Linked DNA regions of Homo sapiens: regions 1 and 3 are each linked to region 2. The links are contacts of gene promoters, found by promoter capture Hi-C in human tissues and cell types (Jung and others, 2019). All regions are on one chromosome and are shown on one strand. Each heading gives the region's core, a stretch centred on a gene start or on the middle of the fragment in contact. The rest is flanking DNA. Distances are from core to core; before and after follow the strand shown.

Region 1 (4,088 bases), core at 832-3,331, 240 kb after region 2:
AAAATATGAAAGGAATGATGACTTGCTCAGGAAAATTTATTTCATTTTCTGTTTTAGTAAGCCTTATATTGATTATGGATTGGGCTGTGAGAAAGAGTAGAGAAGGAAGATATTTTGTGCCAGACATTGTACTTTTCCTGTCATCTCATTAACTACGATGATATGAAAGTAGCTATGAGTTGAGAAAGAATAATTCTTCGTTCCTACTGATGCTGAGAAAGTTGAAGGAGTAGAAAGTAGGACTAATAGTTTTCTTCAGTCCGGAGCTGTTTGCAGGCTACTTCAGTTACCTACTGGCTAAACTTGAAAGAATTTAAATCCCTTAAAAACTTAATTAGACTTAATGAGTTTAGTCTGGGATAATGAGTTCTGTATACTAAAACTGAGTTTGTAAACAATGGCAACAAACAAAAACTCTAAAAAATATTTGCAATAGTAACAGGAAAAATGCCGTGTGAGAACATTCTCTGACAAGCTGTGTAAGACTTTTCTTACAAAATTGTATTGAAAGACGAAGAGGAATTCAACAAATGGAGAGAGATAACATGTTAATGGATTGCAATAGTAAAGGGCCAAGAATAACCAACACACAGCACAAACACTGTAAGGGAACAGATTAAAATAAAAAATTAAAGATTTAGGCTGGGCGTGGTGGCTCACGCCTGTAATTCCAGCACTTTGGGAGGCCGAGGTGGGTGGATCACCTGAATTCAGGAGTTCAAGACCAGGCGGGCCAACATGGCGAAACCCTGTCTCTACTAAAAATATGCAAATTAGCCGGGCTTGTTGGCACACGCCTGTAGTCCCAGCTACTCGGGAGGCTAAGGCAGGAGGATTGCTTGAACCTGGGAGGTGGAGGTTGCAGTGAGCTGAGACTGTGCCACTGTACTCCAGCCTGAGACACAGTGAGACTCCATCTCAAAAAAAAAAATTAAAGATTTAATTAGATTTGTTTAAATTAATTGTTTAAATTTAATTAAAAATACAAGTTAAAAGAATTGAAAAATTCTGTCAGAACACCGTGAAAACAGTGAAAAGCCAAACTCAGATATGAAGAAAGTGTTTGCCATACGTATTAACTAACAAAGGATTAGTGTCAAGGGTATAAAAAAATTGTTACAAGTCAGTAAGAAAAAGATGACCCAGTAGAAAAGTAATGGATATTAGAGACAGTTGACAGAAGAAGAAGAAACCTAAAAGCCCAGCAAACACATGTACATTTGTTCAGCCTCACAAGTAATTAAGGAAATACAGATAAAACCACAGTGACTTTACCAATTCACACCCATAAGACTTCAAAAGTGGAGATTTCTGGTGGTACAGTTATCTAGGTGTGGAGCAATGGGAACTCGCATACTGCAAGTGGGAGTGTACATTGTTATTACCAGTTTAACAGTTACTGAAGTTGAAGGTGTGCATATCTTTCCTCTGCTCCTATGCCCCAGAAAAATTTTCACAAGGGGTCGTGTATGGGACTGTCCATTGCAGCATTGTTTGCTATTATGAAGATTTAGAAACAACCTAAATAACTACTAACATTCTGAAAAAAAAATTCGGGGAAATTCACATTGTGGAATACTATATAACTATATAACAATTAAAACAATTGGAATTGGAACTCTGCGTATCAACATATCTCAGGTGTAATTTATTTGTACTTTTATTTTCGATATTTTTTGTAGAGACGGAGTCTTGCTATGTTGGCCAGGCTAATTTTGAACTCCTGGCCTCAACCAGTCCTCGTGCCTTGGCCTCCTAAAGTTCTGGGATTACAGGCATTAGCTACTGTGCCTGGCCTTCAGGTGGAATATTGAATGAAACAAATGAGTTGCAGAAAGATATAGTATAGTATATAATATTTAAAGTGGTACTTTTTTTGTTTAGATATATATATATATATTTCTAGTAAGACTTACAAAAGTGTGCATGGTAAACTCTGTCTTAGAATGGTTACTTTTGAGAAGGAAGGAAGGGAATGTGATTGAGTAGACTGCACATAGAACCTTCTGTATTTTTGAGATGTATTATTTCTCAAGCTAGATGGTTCATATGTGGGTGTTCATTATACGCTTGGTCCTCCTTCACGGATGGGAAGACCAAGTTTATAATGGAAAAGCATGTATCCACAAATATAGAAAGCATGTATTTGTGGATTCACCCAACTGTGGATTGGAAATACTTGGAAGAAGAAAAATTGCATCTGTATTGAACATGTATAGACTTTATTTTCATGTCATTATTCCCTAAACAATACAGTATAACAACTGTTTACTTAGTTTTTACATTGTACTAGGTGTTATAAGTAATGTAGGGATGATTTATAGTATACAGGAGGAGGTGCCTATGTTATATGCAAATACTATGCCATTTTATATCAGGGACTTGAGTATTCAAAGATACTGCTGGAAGTTTTGGAACGAGTCTTCCCTGGATACTGAAGGACAACTTTAAATTTGTTTATATGGTTTTGTATATTAAATATTTCATGATTGTACAAAGTAATTTGAAGTTTTAGTGACTATTTGTACACTTTTAGAGAAAATATATAATGTCAAGTAAATAATGTGGCCATATATCACACCTTGGGAAAAAGAAACTGGTTGTAATTTGGAATGGTTTGGTTGTAGCTGTGAAATAGGTCTTAGATTATTAAATTTCAGTAAGACACTGAAAAATCCTGTCTTTATCCAGGTCCTGTACTCACATCTCTGCAGATGAAAAAGCAGCTGAAAGGAGTCGAAAGGTATTTAGGATATATTTAGTGATAATTACTCATTGAATAAAATTGTTAACATTTATCTTAGGGTTGAAACAACATTAGCTATATTAGCCACGATTTTTTCTCAGGGCTATTTTTGCCAGTGAGTTAATATAATCAGTTTTTTCTCCTTAATCAAATTATACTGCTAATGTCCTTTTTTTCCCTTTTAATTCTTCTCCTCAGAGGATAGACTAATGTAGAGGAGTTAAAAATGGATATGAAATTTATGAGAATATATGTGGTTATTTGAAAACTGTTCTTGTAATGGTCTGATGTAAAACAAGGTGCCATTCTTTCTTGCTTGGGCTCATGATTTTAAGTGATTTAAAAAACTATGCTCTGCAAAATGGCTAGCAGTTAGGGATCCATGAAAAAATAAACCTTTAATTTTCTTAATCTTTTTGGTTTATATCATAGTAACATAATTAAGCAGGGTTTTTTGTTTATCCTAACCAACAGTAGGCATGGAGGAGAGTTTGGTTTGTTTAAATTGTTTTCCACTTGTTTTTCTATCTTAATTTAAAAGATTAAAAAAAGACAATGATGGGGGTTGGGTTGAAGTAGAGGGTGGCATTTGGTTCCTTTAAAAAATCATAGTGCAGTTTGTTTGGTTTTGATCTGATTTGGGACTTATATGATACAGCGTATTTGCATGGTTGTAATTATTTGCATATATCATTATATTTGGCTTTTAAAAATTTATTCTGAAGCATTTTTCAGATATAACAAGAATTTTCATAATAGCTTATTTACATAATTCATTGTTTTGTACCCAAATAATTACATGCAAATTCTTGCTGCACTTTGCTATATTTAATGTTTATATTGCTTTTCTTTCTGTCTTCTTGGCTGTTTTATTCTCCCATTCTATGTTAATGCATAATGGGTTTAACTTTAGAAAGGCAGTGGCTTTTACATTAGAGTTTTTGGTTACGGTCAGAGTTACGATTAAGCAAACAGTGTCAGAAAAAGAGACAATTAGAAACATCAGAGGGAAAAATCACAAAACCAAGAAACTGCACAGGACAGGAAATATTATTCACTTTGTATGAGTAGTGTTTATAATGTCATAATAGTTAATGTTGATGCTTTTTTAACGTTTATAACCTGTGATTAAAATATAGAAGACTTAATTTCAGTCTTGAAAATGTGAGAATACAAATGACAAATTGGGAGGTGAGAGAGGGAAGAAGAAATAAAGGGAAGGATACAGGTGCTGATACCCTCATTTTACAAAGTAGAAAGGCAAGATAGATTGTTTATTGTTGATGAAATAAGAAATTAAGGTAGAATTCAAGTTGCTAAGGGATCAGTAGAACAGCTAAAA
Region 2 (3,996 bases), core at 1,123-3,622:
CCTCCGAGCGGTTCTCCAGTTTCTCGGGGGAGGCCTGAGTCCGGCCTCGGTCCCGCGGCCTCAGGTAGGCCCGACCGCCGCCTCCGGCCGCCACCAGCAACGGTTCCAGCTCGCCAGCGCGCACCTGTGGGGCCAGCGGCGTGTTCCAGGAAGCGCCCTCCAGCTGTCCAGGGGCACTGCCACTGGGAGAGGGCTCCCGCCCAGGGGGCCTGGATAAGGGCAGGGGCCCCCAGCCCAGCCCAGGCCAGCCCAGCCCAGCGCAGGGATAGGGGGACCCCAAGGGACGGACGGAGAGCCGGTGCGTGAGCGCCCCTGGGGAGAGGATTGGGACCCCAACGCTGAGCGCCGAAGGGAGCACGTACCCGGAAAACGTAGGTGGCGCCCCCGCCACCCCCGCCACCTCCCGCCCAGCGCCGCGACCCCGGGACCCCTTCGCTCCCATCCATCGCCGCGTGCTCTTCAACGGCTCGAGACTCCCCGAGGCAGACGAGCTGGCTCTCCGGGCTACCCTGCGGGCAGCGGGGGAGGGAATCGGCGGGGCCCGGGAGCCTCCCCTCGCTGTGCTGGTGACCCGGCACCGAGGAAAGCACGCTCCCCCGGCCCCCAGGCAGCCCTCGCCCCCGGCGCCGGCGCCGCCCCATCCCCACTGGCTGCGCTCACTCCGGGACAGGCGTCCTCTCCCTGCTGCCCCACCAGGATGTACAGCGACTCCCCGAGACCGAGGGAGAAGATTGCTGAGACGAAGACGCCATGCGCCCGCGACAGGTGGTTCTTGGCGCCTTTGCCGCCCGCGGCTCCGTAGGCTGAGATCCTGCGGGGAACGGACGGTGAGTCCCCGGCCTTCGGTGCTCAGGCCGGCCGCTCCGGGCAGAAGTTGGCGACAGAGGAGGCTCCAGAATTATTTTTTATCTGAGGGACTTGGAGGCTGCAATCGACTCTGACGGGATGGGAAGGGTAGGTTTGCACACCGAAAAATCAGATATTACACTTATTTCAGGAGGGTTCGTGGAAATGTGGGGAGGCTCAAGCACCCCTTGGCGCCGCCCTGGTTGGGGGCCTTCCGCTCGGTGTAAGAGGTTCCGGGTAAGGGCTAACTCGGTGGCGACTACTGCCACCTTGAAGGGCACTCAAGGTGGACCTCCCCGCGGAATAGTCCAAGACGCAAGTCGGTGCGCACGTGGACTTCGTTACCCTGAGGGTGAAACCTCCAACTAGCAGGTCACTGTCCACCCTACCTCCGCCGTGCACTTACAGATACTGGCCAGGGCCCGGCACGCGCCACAGCTGCACGCCTCTCAGCTGCCCGGCGGCCCCCACGGTCACCACCACGCTGGTCCCCGCGTACGCCCCGTCACATTGTGTCTGTGTGGGCCCATGCCGGCCGCTGGCCCCGCAGGTAGAAAACAGCCAAGACCCCTCGGTGCCTGAGAGCAAGGAGCGAGGCAAGGGTCGTCGAGCCCCTGGCTGGGCCAGAGGGGTCTGGTATGGTGAGCGAAAGAGGAAGGAGGCGTCTAAAGCTCACCCGGAGAATTCAGCGGGGAGGCTGGCTCCAAGATACTAGGCGGGGCGCTGACTTTCGGGTCCCGGGGGCTGGGACTTGCCAGCGGCAGGGGCGAGGACCGCAGAAAAGTCTCCTGGGACCCCGGGCTAGAGCAGAGAATGGCGCCTGAAAGGTGTTGGGAGAAGGCGCAGGACGTTAAGGCGGGTGGAAATAGGATATGAAAGAAAGAGAGAACCCCGCAACAGCTGCCCTTGCGGTCGCGGCCACACCCGTCACCCGGCCCAGCCGCGCTCTCAGCCTGGAAGCCACTACCCGACTCCGGTCGCAGAAGCCCCGCGGGTGCGCGCTGATAGGTCTGCCAGTTTCTCTCCTCGAGCGCCTTTCCCAGTGAATAACTTAGGGGCCGCAATGAATTTGGTCCTGCAGCCTCCCCAATGCTTTCCTCAACTTAGATTGGTGGCCCCGCCCCAAGGCGGTGCTGAGACCCCAAAGAATGTTCCTCCTTCCCAAGCTGCGTGATCCAGACTCTGGGATTCGCACGCACTTGGCGCTTCTCGGCCCGCACTCCAGAAGCACGGACCGGAGAAATTTGGCTGTGAGAGTTCGAGGCCTCTGGAGGAACCACTGACACCTGGCCTGTTGACCGGCCACCCCCAAGCCTAGGAAAGTGCCTCAGGCTGGACGGTCCCCTGACCGCCAGATAGCACTTACCCGCGGCTCCGAACCACACCAGCAGCTGTCCCCAGCAGCCCATCCCTGTTGGGTCCACCCGGCAACAAAAGCCCTTGCGGTCGCGGCCACACCCCTGTCAACCTAAAGTTGACAGCTCATTTTGCCACGGCAGCCCTGGCCACCACTTACAGGGGTGTGCTGCCGCTGGCGAGACACTCCCCGGACCTAAAGCTGGTCTGGCCACGCCCACCTCAGACCCCAGGACGCCAGAGGAGGAAAGGGAGGGGCGTGTGGGCAGCGAGGTCCCTACGCTTCCGGGAGGAGCCTTAAGGAGTCCCCACCCAGGGGTTCTAGTTTCCAGCCGTCAGATGTGCCGCAGCCTGCTGGGAGCTCCGGTAGGTTTGAGGCCGGAGAGGAGGTGCCCCACGCTTAAAGTGGGAGCCACACCTCGGACACCAGGTGGGGGCTTCCAGGTTCCTGAGGACAGGAGCAGTGGAGTGTGCACTTCATTTGTGGCAGTGGTGGTGGTGGTGAGTGTGTGGCATGCGTCACCACACGTGGGAAGTACTCTAAACTGCTCCAAGTAAGGCCTCATTACCTGCCATTACTTGTGCCTTTTAGTGGTGCCTTTGTGACTGCAAGGCTGAACCTCATTGCTACTCCCAGAAACCTGGATCTCTGTGTTTGCCTCATATAATTCCGTTGCCTGTGTTACCCCTGTGCACAGCCTCTCACTGTGATGGGGTGAAAGACTGGACCAGACGTTAGAAGATCCGAGTGTTTTTAGTAGCACTGAAGGTCAATAGATGATAGGTAGGTAGACCGATCGATCGATTGATCTTGAGCACTAGTACTGGCACCTCTGGTCAATGGGTGATGTAGCACAGGCCACAACTGCCCTGAGAGTTTCCCCACCACCTGCAAAATCATATGAAGGGAAATTGCTCTGTAAGGTACCCTACAAATGTGGGAGCCACTCCCTTCAGGTAGTTTTGTGTCTTGAGTCTTCGATCATTTGCTTAAATGATCATTTGCCGGGTGCGGTGGTTCATGCCTGTAATCCTAGCACTTTGGGAGGCTGAGGCGGGCAGATCACCTGAGGTCAGGAGTTCGAGACTAGCTAGACCATCATGGCAAAATCCCGTCTCTACTAAAAATACAAAATCAGACACACGTGGTAGCGCACGCCTGTAATCCCAGCTACTCTGGAGGCTGAGGCAGGAGAATGGCTTGAACCTGGGAGGCAGAGGTTGCAGAGACGAGATCGCACCATTGCACTCCAGCCTGGGCAACAAGAGCAAAGCCCCATCTCAAAAAAAAAAAAAAAAAAAAAATCCTAACTTGAAAGTCTGAGACCTATGTTTAATACAAAATACTTCAAAAGAGAAGTTATAGTAGTTAGCTACTTGGTAAAGTCTGAGTATAATTCAAGGTGTAAACAGAACAGTGATTTTGTAAAAAGTCTGGTCTCAGCCAGGCGTGGTGGCTTACACCTGTAATCCCAGCACTTTGGGAGGCCAAGGGGACGGTGGGGGTGGGGTGGATCACAAGGTCAGGAGTTCAAGACCAGCCTGGCTAAGATGGTGAAACCCCGTCTCTACTAAAAATACAAAAATTAGCCGTGCGTGGTGGCAGGTGCCTGTAATCCCAGCTACTTGGGAGGCTGAGGCAGAGAATTGCTTGAACCTGGAAGGCAGAGGTTGCAGTGAGCCGAGATTGCACCACTACACTCCAGCCTGGGTGACAGAGTGAGACTCCATCTCAAAAAAAACAAAAAACAAAAAAACCCTGGTCTCTATGCCCTACTTAACACTAGATATCAC
Region 3 (4,080 bases), core at 148-2,647, 160 kb after region 2:
TTTTTGTTTGAACTTGCCTTATTTTTGTTTGTTTATTTTTTTTGAGACGAAGTCTCACCCTGTCGCCCGGGCTGGAGTGCAGTGGTGTCATCTCGGCTCACTGCAACCTCTGGCTCCCAGGTTCAAGCGATTCTCCTGCCTCAGCCTCCCAAGTAGCTGGGATTGCAGGTGTGTGCCACCATGCCCGGCTAAATTTTTTATATATTTTTTAGTAGAGATGGGGTTTCACCATGTTGGCCAGGCTGGTCTCAAACTCCTGACCTCAGGTGATCCACCCGCCTCCGCCTCCCAAAGTGTTGGAATTACAGATGTGAGCCACCGCGCCCGGCCTGAACTTGCCTTATTTTGAGTTTTAAACCCAAGTTCAGCAAAAGTAAAGAAATCCCTGCACACAAATTTCCTTTACTTTCCTTTTCTTGCTAAAATTGTAGGCCACTAACAGCTACTATTTTTTGAATTTGGAATCTCCGTGCTCATGAGTTCCCCTTGTCTTGTCTATGAGCTGGTTATTGCTTTGCTTTTTCTAAGGATTGTTGCAGCAGGAGGAAGTGCTGCTCAAGCAATGCATAGTTTTTTTGTCAAAGGGGAAAGGTTCTTTCAGGTTATACTTTTTGCTGTGGTATTGTTTGTAATTGCAGCTGGTGGATGCCATCTTTAAACTTGATTCTTCAGCCACAGCTTAATCATCTTGATTATCTAACATAATTAAAATAAGATTTAAACAGTTGACCACAAATTATATTTTTACCCTTGTTATCCAGAAACAGTTTATTGTACCGTTGGATGATGCAGAATTTATTGAAATTCCTTTGGAGGATAGGGCCTGAAGGAGTTTGTTAGGTGAAAGGGTCAGACGTATGTTTGTTTGTTTTTCGAGATAGTGTATGGCTCTGTCACTTAGAATGGGTGCAGTAGTGCATTCACGGCTCACTGCAGCCCTGACTTCCTGGACTTGGGTGATTCTCCTACCTCAGCCTCCTGAATAGCTGGGACTACAGGCATGCACCACCATCCCTGGCTAATTTTTTGTATTTTTAGTAGAGAAGAGGTTTTGCCATGTTGCCCAGGCTGGTCTCAAACTCATGAGCTGAAGCGATCTGTCAGCCTTGGCCTTTCACAGTTCTGGGATTACAGGCATGAGCTGCCACACCCAGCCAGGCTTATTTTTTTGTTATAGAAAGCAGCTGTTGGGATTACATATGGTTAAGCCTTTGATTTTAATGGATCAAGAGAGTGGTTCAGATTTATTAACGTATAGTATCTCTGTCACTAAAGGGAGAAAAGCAACTTGAATCATGCTCCAAGAAATAGCATTATCTTTGTGTGTGAAAATGGTATTTAGCTATATGTAAACTTTTTTTCTAAATGCTTGATACGGGAGCAGAAATTATTTTTAGGCAGGAGTTGGACAAATCTGGCCTATAGCCTATTTTAGTATGTATACAAGAATATGTGACAGAGACCATAGATGCTTGTAAAGCGTAAAATATTTACTATCTGTTCCTTTACAGGAAAAATTTGCCAACCTCTGATTTAAGGGTTTAAAAAATTATATACACATGCGTGTGCACACACACACACACACACACACACTATTTTCCCATTTTCTATTCAGTTACTGATATATGATTGCTCTGTCATTCTTTGTTTTAGCTAATGTTATTGGTAAACACACTGATCTTTATTCAGGCTTTATTTGCTACATTTGCGGTTGCTTGACCATTTTTCTCCTACTTTAAACTCTTATTTTTGCTTCCTTGGCTTTTACCATACCATTCACGTGGTTCTCCTAACTCTTGATTTTTTCCCTTCTTTCAGTTATTCTTACTGACTCCTTATATTATAATATATTCAGATATTTATTACATGAAGGTTATTTCCTAGTATTATGCTCTCGTAGTCCTTAGTTTTTCTTTCTTTCTTTTTTTTTCTTTTTTGAGACAGAGTCTTGCCCTGTTGCCCAGGCTGAAGTGCAGTGGTGTGATCTTGGCTTGCTGCAACCTCTGCCTCCTGGGTTCAAGCGATTCTTGTGCCTCAGCCTCTGGATTAGCTGGAATTACAGGTGCATGCCACCATGCCTGGCTAATTTTTGTATTTTTAGTAGAGATGGCGTTTCACCATGTTGGCCAGGCTGGTCTTGAACTCCTGGCCTCAAGTGATCCTCCTGCCTCAGCTTCCCAAAGTGGTAGGATTACAGGCGTGAGCTACCATGCCCAGCTGTTGTAGTCTTTTTCTTTCTTTCTTTTTTTTTTTTTTTTTTTGAGATGGAGTTTTGCTCTTGTTTTCCAGGCTGGAGTGCAGTGGTACGATCTCGGTTCAATGCAACCTCTGCTTCCTGGGTTCAAGTGATTCTCCTGCCTCAGCCTCTGGAGTAGCTGGGATTACAGGCATGTGCCACCATGCCTGGCTAAGTTTTGTATTTTTAGTAGAGACGGGGTTTCACCATGTTGGTCAGACTGGTCTCGAACTCATGACCTCAGGTGATCCACCTGCCTCAACCTCCCAAAGTGCTGGAATTACAGGCGTGAGCTACCCCATCCCTGGCCATCTTGTAGTCTTATCTATGACTTTGACCTCTTCTCCCATCTAATACTGATTATTGTTATGTTTTGAGACGGAGTCTTGCTCTGTCACCCAGGCTGAAGCGCAGTGGCGCGATCTCGACTCACGGAAACCTCCGCCTCTTGGGTTCAAGCAATTCTCCTGCCTCAGCCTCCCGAGTAGCTGGGATTACAGGCACATGCTACCACACCCGGCTAATTTTTGTAGTTTTAGTAGAGGTGGGCTTTTGCCATGTTGGCCAGGCTGGTTTTGAACTCTTGACCTCAGGTGACCCACCTACCTCAGCTTCCCAAGTGCTGGATTACAGGGGTGAGCCACTACATCTGACCAATTATTATTTTTTATTTTTATTTTTAGACAGAGTCTGGCTCTATTGCCTCAGCTGGAATATAGTGGCGCGATCTTGGCTCACTGCACTTCTGCCTCCCAGGTTCAAGCAATTTTCCTGCCTCAGCCTCTGGGGTAGCTGGGATTACAGGTGCCTACCACCATGCCCGACTAATTTTTTTGTATTTTCAGTAGAGGTGGGGTTTCAGCATGTTGGCCAGGCTGGTCTTGAACTCCTGACCTCAAGTGGCCTGCTCACCTCAGCCTCCCAAAGTGTTAGGATTATAGGCATGAGCCACTATGCCCAGCTTAATAGTGATTATTCTTATTTTTATTTTTATTTTTTTTTTTAGACAGAGTCTTGCTGTGTCACCCAGGCTGAAACGTAGTGGCGTGATCTGGGCTCACTGCAACCTCCGCCTCCTGGGTTCAAGTGATTCTCCTGCCTCAGCCTCCTGAGTAGTTGGGACTATAGACGCATGCCACCACAGCCAACTATTTTTTGTATTTTTAGTAGAGACGGGGTTTCACCATGTTGGTCAGGATGGTCTCGATCTCTTGACCTCTTGATCCGCCCGCCTTGGCCTCCCAAAGTGTTGGGATTACAGGCGTGAGCCACGGCGCCCGGCCAATAGTGAATATTTTTAAAGCCACTGATGTTTCTAGCTTATTTGTCTCTCTTCTTAGTTCCAGACCTCTAGATCAAAATGTTCATTATTATAGAGAATTCCAGCTGAATTTTTCTTTTTACTTTAAATCCTCCCCTTTTTTTTGCATTAGCTATGATAGTCATTCAAATCGGAAACCTCTGCATTGTTTTTGCCTCCTTACATAAATCTGTTAAGTTATTCTCCTATTGATGTATATTTGGATTGTTTCTAGTTTTTGACTGTTATGAATAAAACTAGTACGAACTTTCTTACACGTGTCTTTGGTGGACATACGCACTAGTTTCTTTTTGTTACATGTCTAGGAGGAGAATTGCTGGGTCATACAGTAGGCATACTTTTAGTAGACACTGCCAGAATTTTCCAAAAGGATCATACCAGCTTATACTTCCACCAAAAATGTATGATGAGACTTCCTGTTACTTCTACATCTTTGTTAGCACATGTGGTATTGTCTTTTTTGTTTTTAGCTATTCTGGTTTCACTATCTTTAGAGGCTATTGCTGCTTTTTTTTTTCCCCTT

Evidence for each region. Contacts are between HindIII fragments. The study calls those that stand out against the background at their distance.
Region 1: a contact is called between a fragment that was not itself captured here and the fragment with the promoter of LTK in region 2, in 1 of the 25 tissues and cell types used here (lymphoblastoid cells).
Region 3: a fragment that was not itself captured here is called in contact with the fragment with the promoter of LTK in region 2 in 2 of the 25 tissues and cell types used here (dorsolateral prefrontal cortex and liver).

What each region holds. Positions count from the first base shown.
Region 1 is chr15:41,755,097-41,759,184 of GRCh38, forward strand. MGA (MAX dimerization protein MGA) reads left to right here. Exons shown (of 24, transcript NM_001400225.1): 19 at 2,692-2,743. Among named protein-coding and RNA genes, the nearest start is that of MAPKBP1, 17 kb to the right of the region's middle. The HindIII fragment of the contact is 4,374 bases long and covers 1-4,088 here.
Region 2 is chr15:41,511,455-41,515,450 of GRCh38, forward strand. It overlaps LTK (leukocyte receptor tyrosine kinase), which reads right to left and starts at 2,373. Exons shown (of 20, transcript NM_002344.6): 1 at 2,213-2,373; 2 at 1,523-1,666; 3 at 1,253-1,424; 4 at 661-811; 5 at 363-509; 6 at 1-124. The coding sequence starts at 2,255. RefSeq lists an enhancer at 1,205-1,952 and a silencer at 1,659-1,738. The HindIII fragment of the contact is 13,334 bases long and covers 1-3,996 here.
Region 3 is chr15:41,671,299-41,675,378 of GRCh38, forward strand. All of the region lies in intron 2 of MGA (MAX dimerization protein MGA), which reads left to right. Among named protein-coding and RNA genes, the nearest start is that of MGA, 13 kb to the left of the region's middle. The HindIII fragment of the contact is 6,232 bases long and covers 1-4,080 here.